2 separate regions of the Homo sapiens genome follow, and region 1 is linked to region 2. Evidence: promoter capture Hi-C in human tissues and cell types (Jung and others, 2019). All regions are on one chromosome and are shown on one strand. The core of a region is centred on a gene start or on the middle of the fragment in contact, and the rest is flanking DNA. Distances in the headings are between cores, read along the strand shown.

Region 1 (4,277 bases), core at 663-3,162, 270 kb after region 2:
AGACCAAGGCAGGAGGATCACTTAAGCCCACGAGTTTGAGACCAGCCTGGACAATATAGCAGGACCTTGTCTCTACAAAATATTTTTAAAATTAACCAAGTGTGGTGACATGCACCTGTAAACCCAAGTACTTGAGAGGCTGAGGTGGGAGGATCACTTGAACTCAGGAGGCAGAGGTTGCCGTGAGCTGCACTCAGACCACTACTGCACTCCAGCCTGAGAAGCAGAGCAAGACTCTGTCTCCAAAAAAAACTTTAAAGCAAAAGATCATTCCCACAAATCTCCAAGGAGTAAACAGAAATGAAATGATGGGGCTTCAGGTAGTTCCTCCTTAGTTACTGAAGAATCTTTTAAATATGTTCATAATTATAATCTGGATTCAAATTCTGGATACCATTGAAATCAGGAGTTTCAAATGGAGAAAGCTAGAGGTACCCACATAAATGATCTAGTACCTATTTCTATTGCTTCCTGTTTCTTTTCTTTAAAACTCATCCTATAAATAGCATTCAAGTAGATAGAAAATCTTATATTTAGAAGAAAATATAAGAAAAATCTTATATGTAGAAGAAATCATCTATAGTGTAAACAAAAGATAGAGACCTTTGTGAAATATCTCCTTCAAACACAACAATAGAGAAGAATGTTGTTTTTCCCTTGTAAAAAGCAATGTCACTTAAAGACCTGGAGTTGTTTCATTAATTCTCTTAGGCAAATTAAATTATCTAATTCAACATGACATGAAATAATGCAAAAGTAAATTACTTTATCTGGCTTCCAAAAATACTAAAACTACTTTTCTCAAGAAACTAAGCAATACTTAGAATACATTCTATTACCAGGGTCAACCTTGTTTCTGAATTACAGTGATGGGATAGTGAAGACAGGAGGCAGTCTCCCTTTGAAATTCTCCAACCAACATGTATTATCTATCAATCAGAGAACAGTTAACTGCATTTTCTTTTAAGTTTATTGATGTTGCTGCCAGCCTGCAATGTTTGCATCAGGACACTCTATACCCTGTTTCAAACCCATACTAACAAAGGAAAAGGGAGACACGAAAAAGGGAAATAATATTCAAAAATATCCAGATCCCACTCTGGGCTTTTTTTCATTAAATTCTCACGTTTCCAACTTCAGTTTCTCCTTAATAAATATTTGTGGTGGTGTAAAATGTGTTCCTCACCCACATTATGTACTTTTTATCAGTGGTAATACTATGAGAAGTGAGAATGTTGTATTGTAGTTACTTTAAAATGATTTTGTAAATATCATATTGTAGAGGTTTGACTGAATAATCAAGAAAGAAAATGCCAAAGTATGGAAACAAACATACTGGTACTAGTTAAATCAGAGTTCCTTCATCTTAACTTTGTTATTTCAGAAAATCTTTAAAATTGAGAGTGCGGTTCAACCACAAGACATTTTAAAGAGAGAAGCAGGACTCAACTGAATTGAAATGAGCGTCATTATTCTATCTTTCTTCCTATACCATACTTGAGTCCTGATGACTTTCAACAATGGCCTCTGCTAAAAGTATCATTCCTTGAAGTGGGTTCTGCAGTGGACATGTGTGTGTATGTGTTGTCAGTATATGTAATTTTGCTTTTACAATGTTGGCAGTAAGAAGAAGCCTTCTAATTTTATTCAGCATGATGATAGGCCCTAGCATTTTAATTATTTTTTATGTTGTGAGTAATTTATTATTCACTGGCTATCTTCCCTGTAAATCTTGTCCTCGCTCTGTAAGGTTTTTCTTTGGTGTCCAACAAAGGGTTTCATTGCAATAAGAATCAAGGTGTGTCTAAATTCTTACCCAGAGCCCAAACAATGCCAGTCTTCCAGACCAGCCTGGGAGTTTGGGGTGGGGAAACAGTCATTATAGAATATCTTCATCTCTCTGCCCAGAGATCACCACAGTTATCACCCATGCCCTCCTAAAAGGGTGTCTCAAAGCATATCTTTCTGTAGAGCAGAATTCGGAACTGAGAAGACGAGGGCTCAAATTGAATCTCACAGGATTTGCGTGCAAGAGAAACCCAAAGGAATGGATTGGCTCTTCTTCAGAAACATTTGCCTTTTGATCATTCTAATGGTAAGTAGAATTTAAAGAGGTGGGAAGGAAATGCAGCCTCAAGGTCTTGTCTCTGTCAACTGTCGGGCTTTCTACATGGGATTTATTCCATTTTTAATCTCCTTCCTGCAAAGAGAGTTCTAGAAGTCCAGCCTCTGTTAATTTCAAACAACTCTCTCCGCCTTGAGGAACAAAATGCCATAGAGAAGCGGGGTGAGAATCTGGCTGAATTAAATTTATATGCCCTCAGAGACATAATCTACTTCACTTTGAGTGTTAGGACTATTCTAAAATTTTAAATTGGAAATAAAATTCATATTCTATGATCATATAAATAAATCAGATAGATTGCTGTGAAAACTGCCAGTGCAAATGGGTTCTAAATTTGAAGGGAAGTTAATCAAACCCATTTCTTTTCAATAGTTATTTCCCTATGAGTTTCTTTCAAAGTGGAGGAATGATAGCCATGTTGAAATTACATTGCAACTAATGATGACATACTAAAGTCATGAGAACTTTTTCCAGTCAGATATTGCTAAAGAAAAATGAAGCCCAGCCATCAAGACAAAACTTTTCTGGAATTATGAATGCATTCCTACAGACCAGCAAAGAAATATTTAAATGACTTATTTCTTTACAGTAAACATGGCATCTTGGATATTATATTTCTTTCCTCTAACCTTTGGGTGCCCAAGGTGTGACATGATTTCCAGACAGGCAGCATGCATAGCAAATATCCTACCCTAGAAAGAGATAATTCCAACTCCAAAGAAGAACAAAGTTCCAGTTGGCCAATCAACAAACTATTGCCAATTCTGGGAGGGTAAGAGGACAGGATTATTAGGAACTGTACAAATTTTTCAAAGTAAATTAAGACAAATGCATTATAGTTGGCCACACTTCAATCTCCCAGGAGTATCCAGGTTAGCGCTACAACCTAAGCTTAGAAAGTGATTCCCATCCTATTCTTAGGCAAGTGGCAATTATACCAGACTCCTCTGAACATCAGTTGTAAGAGACAGAGAGTAGCTAGGGCTGGGAGAGATGGGAGCACGTCATTGTCCAAGAGGCACAGTGAGAGCTACTCTTCTGGAATTCACATTTCTAAACTTCAAGAGCAGTGCGGGAGCCGAACACTGCCAAAGGGCACACAACCCCAAGCTCAAAAGGGAACGTGACAACAGTGGTAGAATATTGCATCCTCTGAGTTTAGGAGACAGATTATTAAACAATACCATTTTTGAAAAATATTTTTAAACTTAAAAACATAAGACGAAGGGCAATATTCTGTTACAATGATCATTATTTATTTACTAAATAAAATAAATGTTACTAAAAGAAGAGGCAAGAATCGGACTTGGTCTTCAATTGAAATAGTAAGTTATGAGGATATACCTCTTGTTACTCTTCTACCGAGTATATTCATGCTTTGACTCAGATAAACTTTTGGTTTTCTGTAAGGAAAATTGTATGTGTCAAGATTTTAGAGGCCACTTCTGAGCACTAAATCTTGCCTCCCATTGCCTTCTGCACAGGCATGATTTATGATAATATTATTTAATTGAAGAGTTGATTCTTCTCCTTGATCTTGAAAGAGTATTATACTTCAGACTCTCAGGATCTTTTTTTGGTAGTATTTATTTATTTTCCTTGGTAATACTAGCGTTTTTAATACTTAATTCCTCCTACTCCTCATTGATATTGAAGTCTTTGTGTTTGACATTTCACGGTAATTGTGAAAAAGTTCTTTAAGTATTTTTTTTCTTTATGCTTGTCTAAAAGATCCCTTACCATATCAATTAATAGTGTCTGGAATTGGGAGGTAGAGACTTCTGGCATATTTCAAAATTGAAACAAATACAAGAATTGTTTAAGGAGAATCAATGAGATGTTATAGATATTATAGGAAAGTAGACATGCCTACTTCTCTTTAATTTCCTGAACTTGAACTCTGCCCCTTCTTCATTAACTAAATCAAAGACTCTCTGGGGCATCATTGCAGCTTACACTAATGAGGGTGTGGCAGCCTCTCAGAGACTCACAGGTACTTTGTGTCAGCTACATCTCAACCGCAAAGAGCACTGTAAACAAAGTTCTGACTGGCTAACCAGCAAAAGGTACTCAAAACTCTAGATTACAATAGGGCACTGATTTTATCACGAGTCATTTGGCATTTTCTTCCTAAGGATGCTTATCATGTTCT
Region 2 (4,230 bases), core at 1,093-3,592:
ATTTCTCACACTTGAGACTCACAACCACAACAGCCACGTGAGGTTGGCAGGGCTTTGCACAGATGTGCACAGAGCAAAAACCAGCAGAATGAGAGTGTAGGCAGGGCCAGCATACTTCCTACCCCACTCCCCGCCTATCAAACTCCGAAGCTAAGGAAGAACAAGGAATGGAAATTCAATTTCAGTGTATTCAGTGATACCCCACCTCCTCCTAAACAGAATCTGAGATAACACACAGAAAGCTCTCTCTGCAGGTATATGCAGAGCAATGCCACGCATTGCCAGCGTCTGTGCATGCCTTTTCCTTTAAAGAATGGCCGGTGGTTTTAAAAGAAATTGCAATTTTATTAGGAGTCTAATGAAAATTTATTTCTTACTCATCAACATATGTTCTGACCGTTATTTATTCCATTCTTGGTTTCCTCATCTGTAAAATGTTAACTGCTGTGTACTTGGCCCTTTCTATGTTATTAATATGCCCTGAGAATTCAGTTAAGGGTTTGAAGTCCATTGAGCTCCTCGAGAAAGACATTCTAATAACAGTAACAATTACCAATTCATGATTGTAAAATGTGGAACTCTACTGCGAAGTGAGAGCGGAAGAGAAGGGGAAATTATACGAATATTTCAGCCCCCAGTTCACTTCTCCCAGAAGGAATTAGCCTTCCGGGTTCCTCCCTTTGTCCTTCAAGATTGATTGGCGCCCAACGCCTTCTGCTTAAGACAAGGAGCACTTTTCCACACCTGTCGATTTTTTTCCTCTTCCAGGGAGCCAGGAAAAGTCCAATCGGACTTTTTATATCCCCAATTCCCCAGACGCTGCTCCCGGCATTGGCTTTTTGCGTCTTCAGGCTCCCCAACGAGATCCCATCGGTCAAGCCTGGGAAAGGGGCTGTCCCGCCCCAAATAAGGCCAACCACTTAGGCTCCCAGCTCTGGGAAGGGGTAGGGTCATTGCTGTAGTGCTCTTTAAAGAAAGAAAGAACCTGGGGCAAGGGGCGGTGGCGCGGGGGGCGGGTGGTGAGCAGAAAAATCGAGTCGCCTCTGGGGACAAGAAATCAGAAAGACCCTTCCTTCCTCCGAAGATTTAGGGAACTGAAGCCTCGCACGTTAAGAAACCACTGAAACTGTACAAATGCTCACCTAGGGCTCGCCGGTCGACAGTCCTCAGGAGCAAAGGGTCAAGATCCCCTCCCCCACCCGCCACTTCCCCCCGCCCTTCTCTCAGAGTAAACAATTCCCAGAAAGGCGAGCAGTTCCCTTTTTCACCCAAGGACACTCGCTCTCCGTCCCGGCCGCCCAGCGGTTCCCCTTTCCGTGGCCTGGGCAGGCGCTGAGGCACAGGGAGCCGCACGTTCCCGAGGCACAGGGAGCCGCACGTTCCCGAGGCACAGGGAGCCGCACGTTCCCGGGGAAGGTGCCAGAGGCCAGCTGGACGGCCCCGGCGCACTCCCGCCCCGGCGCACTCCCGCCCCGGCGCACTCCGACCCCGGCGCACTCCCGCCCCGGCGCACCCTGCTCCCCGGCGCGTACCCAGGGGCCACGATTTTGGCTGGGCGAAAGCGGCCCGCTCCCGCCTCTCCTTGAGTGCGCTGATTACATCTACCGGAGACACCTTCCCTTCCCTTGGGGATCCCAACTCTCAGGTCGCGATCCTCTTCCTATCTGCCCTCCCCCACCCCCGCCAACTCCATTTTCTAGCCACCCAGAGGCCCCTTCACCCCAGCTTTTCCCGCCACCCCCACCTATCCCCGTTCCCCTAGTTTTCCTCTGCACCCTAGGCGATCGCCCCCTTCCCCGGAGCGGTGGCCGCGGCTACACTCACCGCGAGGGTCAGCAGGAGCAGCCGGCAGAGGGCTCCGTTCCAGGAGCCGGAGGGGCGGGCTGCCTCCATGGAGAGGGCTCGGGGCAGGTCGCGGGCCGAGCGTCGGGCCGGGGTAGGAGGGCTCCGCGGGGCGAGGGCCGCGGCCGGAGCGCAGTCTGGGCCCGCTGCTCAGGAGGAGCGCGAGGCGGAGGAGGTGGGGCGCGCGGAGAGGTGCTTTTCTTAGCTTCTCTGAAGCGCCTGCCTCTCATCCAAGGGGCTTTTCCTTTGGCGGAGGGAGGGGCTCCAGACGCGTCCAAAAGACACCGATCGGCCCCTCCTTGTTGTCTATTTAAGACTTAAGACTTCATTTCTCTAAGAAAGCCACGGGTGGGAACTCCCTCTCGCCGCCACCCTTTTACCTGCGCAAGGTGTTTCTCACCAGCGGACGCCACCTATAAGGCCCATCTCCCCCACCACGCCCCGGTGTCCGCTCCGCCAGGCGAGATTAACAGCCGGCCCTGCCCAGCAGAAGCCCTGACTGCACAAAGACTCACTCCTGAGTGCGCGGTCGGCCCCGGCTCCGCCCTGCCCGCTGCCCTCGGCGACGGCCGTGGTCCCTGCCCTGGGGTCAATTACAGAGCGAGGTCTGAGCCGCAGAGGCTGGGTTTTAGGTCACAGCTGCCTGAGGCCCACCTGACAGAAAGTTGACTCCAGGGAGACTGTTACACACTCTACTGGAGTGAATTTCCTACACACACCCACAAGCAGTTCAGACATCATAGTCATCTGAGGCACCATTCTTTGGGGTCTTGTGTTTTTAGGAATTTACTGGCATGACAATGATACAAGACAATCGCCATAATTTAGAGACAAAAATACATATATACATACATACGTACGTAAAGTTAGGGAATCAAGGCGACTGCAAAATAATAAAATCGAGGGTGAGTTACTATAAGAAATGCATCCATTGAGGTCCTAGTCGTGGGCTACATGTGGTTACTGATTTTCTCCAAGAACATCCCTGGTCACAAATAGAGTTATAACTTATTTCCTATACCGGACTCCTGAACATCCAGTGGAGAGTTCTCACCTTCTTTACTACCATCAAAACCAGAGTTCATGGTGAGAAATGAATAAGAATGGGATAATTTACATTTTTATTTGAAGTGCACTTAAACTAAATGAATTATTGCAGCACACAATCTGGAAGATTAAGATATAAATGCTGTTTCTTTTAGCTCTTCAGAAAGCAATGACAAGGCATCTGACTCATCCTCCTGCACCTCTTTTCAATTACTGACTTAAACCAGGTAAGCCTGACCACAAAAGAGAAACTTGTCTGCTCCCTTTTATTTGGTTTAAGTTTCCTCAGGGATGTCCTGAGAATCCTATGTGAAAAGCCAACCCTGACACTCACACCATTTCGATTCTTGAAAATGTTCACCATCTTAACACCATTGTATGCCGAGCCAGAATTACTGCAATACTGAGTGTATATTTAAATTAAAAATTAATGTCAAACAGCGCATGCCTTACATTCTCTGTGTCTGTGCTATGCTCATGCCCTATTTTATTAACGAATGCCACTAATGAGCTGTTCTGTCTCCATATCCATAAAATTATCATTGACCCTTTGCTAGTAAAATAAGCCTGAGTCATCAGCATGAGACTATAATTGACATCCTTCCGTTTCCATATTTTTTAACACTCATAGTTTTCCATCAATGATACCATAAGCACACCTCATCCTATTAAAGATGACATCATGGTCTCTAGCATGAAGCTTTTCAGAGGACAAAAAGAAAGCTATAAGCGTTTCAGGTTCTGGAGATCTACTCAGACTATCATCACAGGCTTTGACTATAGGACATTTCCAAACTCTTGCCTACTCTTTACCCTCTGATGCCTTAAGGGCAGCTCATGTTTTTCCTCATTCCAGGAAAGGGCGGAAGAGCAATTTGACTAGAATTCATCTTAGATATTTATTTTCCTCTTTCACATTAATTGATAGAGGCTATTAAAATGGTGATTTGTTTGTTTTATTCCAAAAAAAACTTTCAACAAAAGAATGGAATATAAAGTACTTTCTCTGAGCAAGTACCCAATTTATTTAATGTATTTAGGTTAGGCTATATGGTCACTGAAATAGATCCCTCTAAAACATAGGTTTGAAACAAAGGGCATATATTTAAAAAAAAAATGGAATGTGAGTAGATGTGATCTTTTTTTAAAAGAATGACTTTTGCTTATGAATATGATTCTGCTGCATGAACTAGTTTCCCAATAAAAATATACTTTTTATAGTAAAAAGTACACCAGACCGAAAGTAAGAAGCAACTTCTTTTGTGTTGCTTAAGTAATCTCTCAGGTCTCAACACTCCCATTTGTCCATCTGTTAAGTAAGATAATCAATAATAATAAGGT

What was found. The method cuts DNA at HindIII sites, captures the fragments that hold promoters and counts their contacts. A contact is called where the count stands out against the background at its distance.
Region 1: a contact is called between the fragment with the promoter of DSG4 here and the fragment with the promoter of DSC2 in region 2, in 1 of the 25 tissues and cell types used here (heart left ventricle).

What each region holds. Positions count from the first base shown.
Region 1 is chr18:31,374,865-31,379,141 of GRCh38, forward strand. DSG4 (desmoglein 4) reads left to right here and starts at 1,913. Exons shown (of 16, transcript NM_177986.5): 1 at 1,913-2,095. The coding sequence starts at 2,048. The region is part of intron 1 of DSG1-AS1 (DSG1 antisense RNA 1); the gene reads right to left. The HindIII fragment of the contact is 6,705 bases long and covers 1-4,135 here.
Region 2 is chr18:31,100,079-31,104,308 of GRCh38, forward strand. DSC2 (desmocollin 2) reads right to left here and starts at 2,343. Exons shown (of 16, transcript NM_024422.6): 1 at 1,825-2,343. The coding sequence starts at 1,893. It overlaps DSCAS (DSC1/DSC2 antisense RNA), which reads left to right and starts at 1,510. Exons shown (of 4, transcript NR_110785.1): 1 at 1,510-1,645; 2 at 3,045-3,116. The HindIII fragment of the contact is 11,144 bases long and covers 1-3,948 here.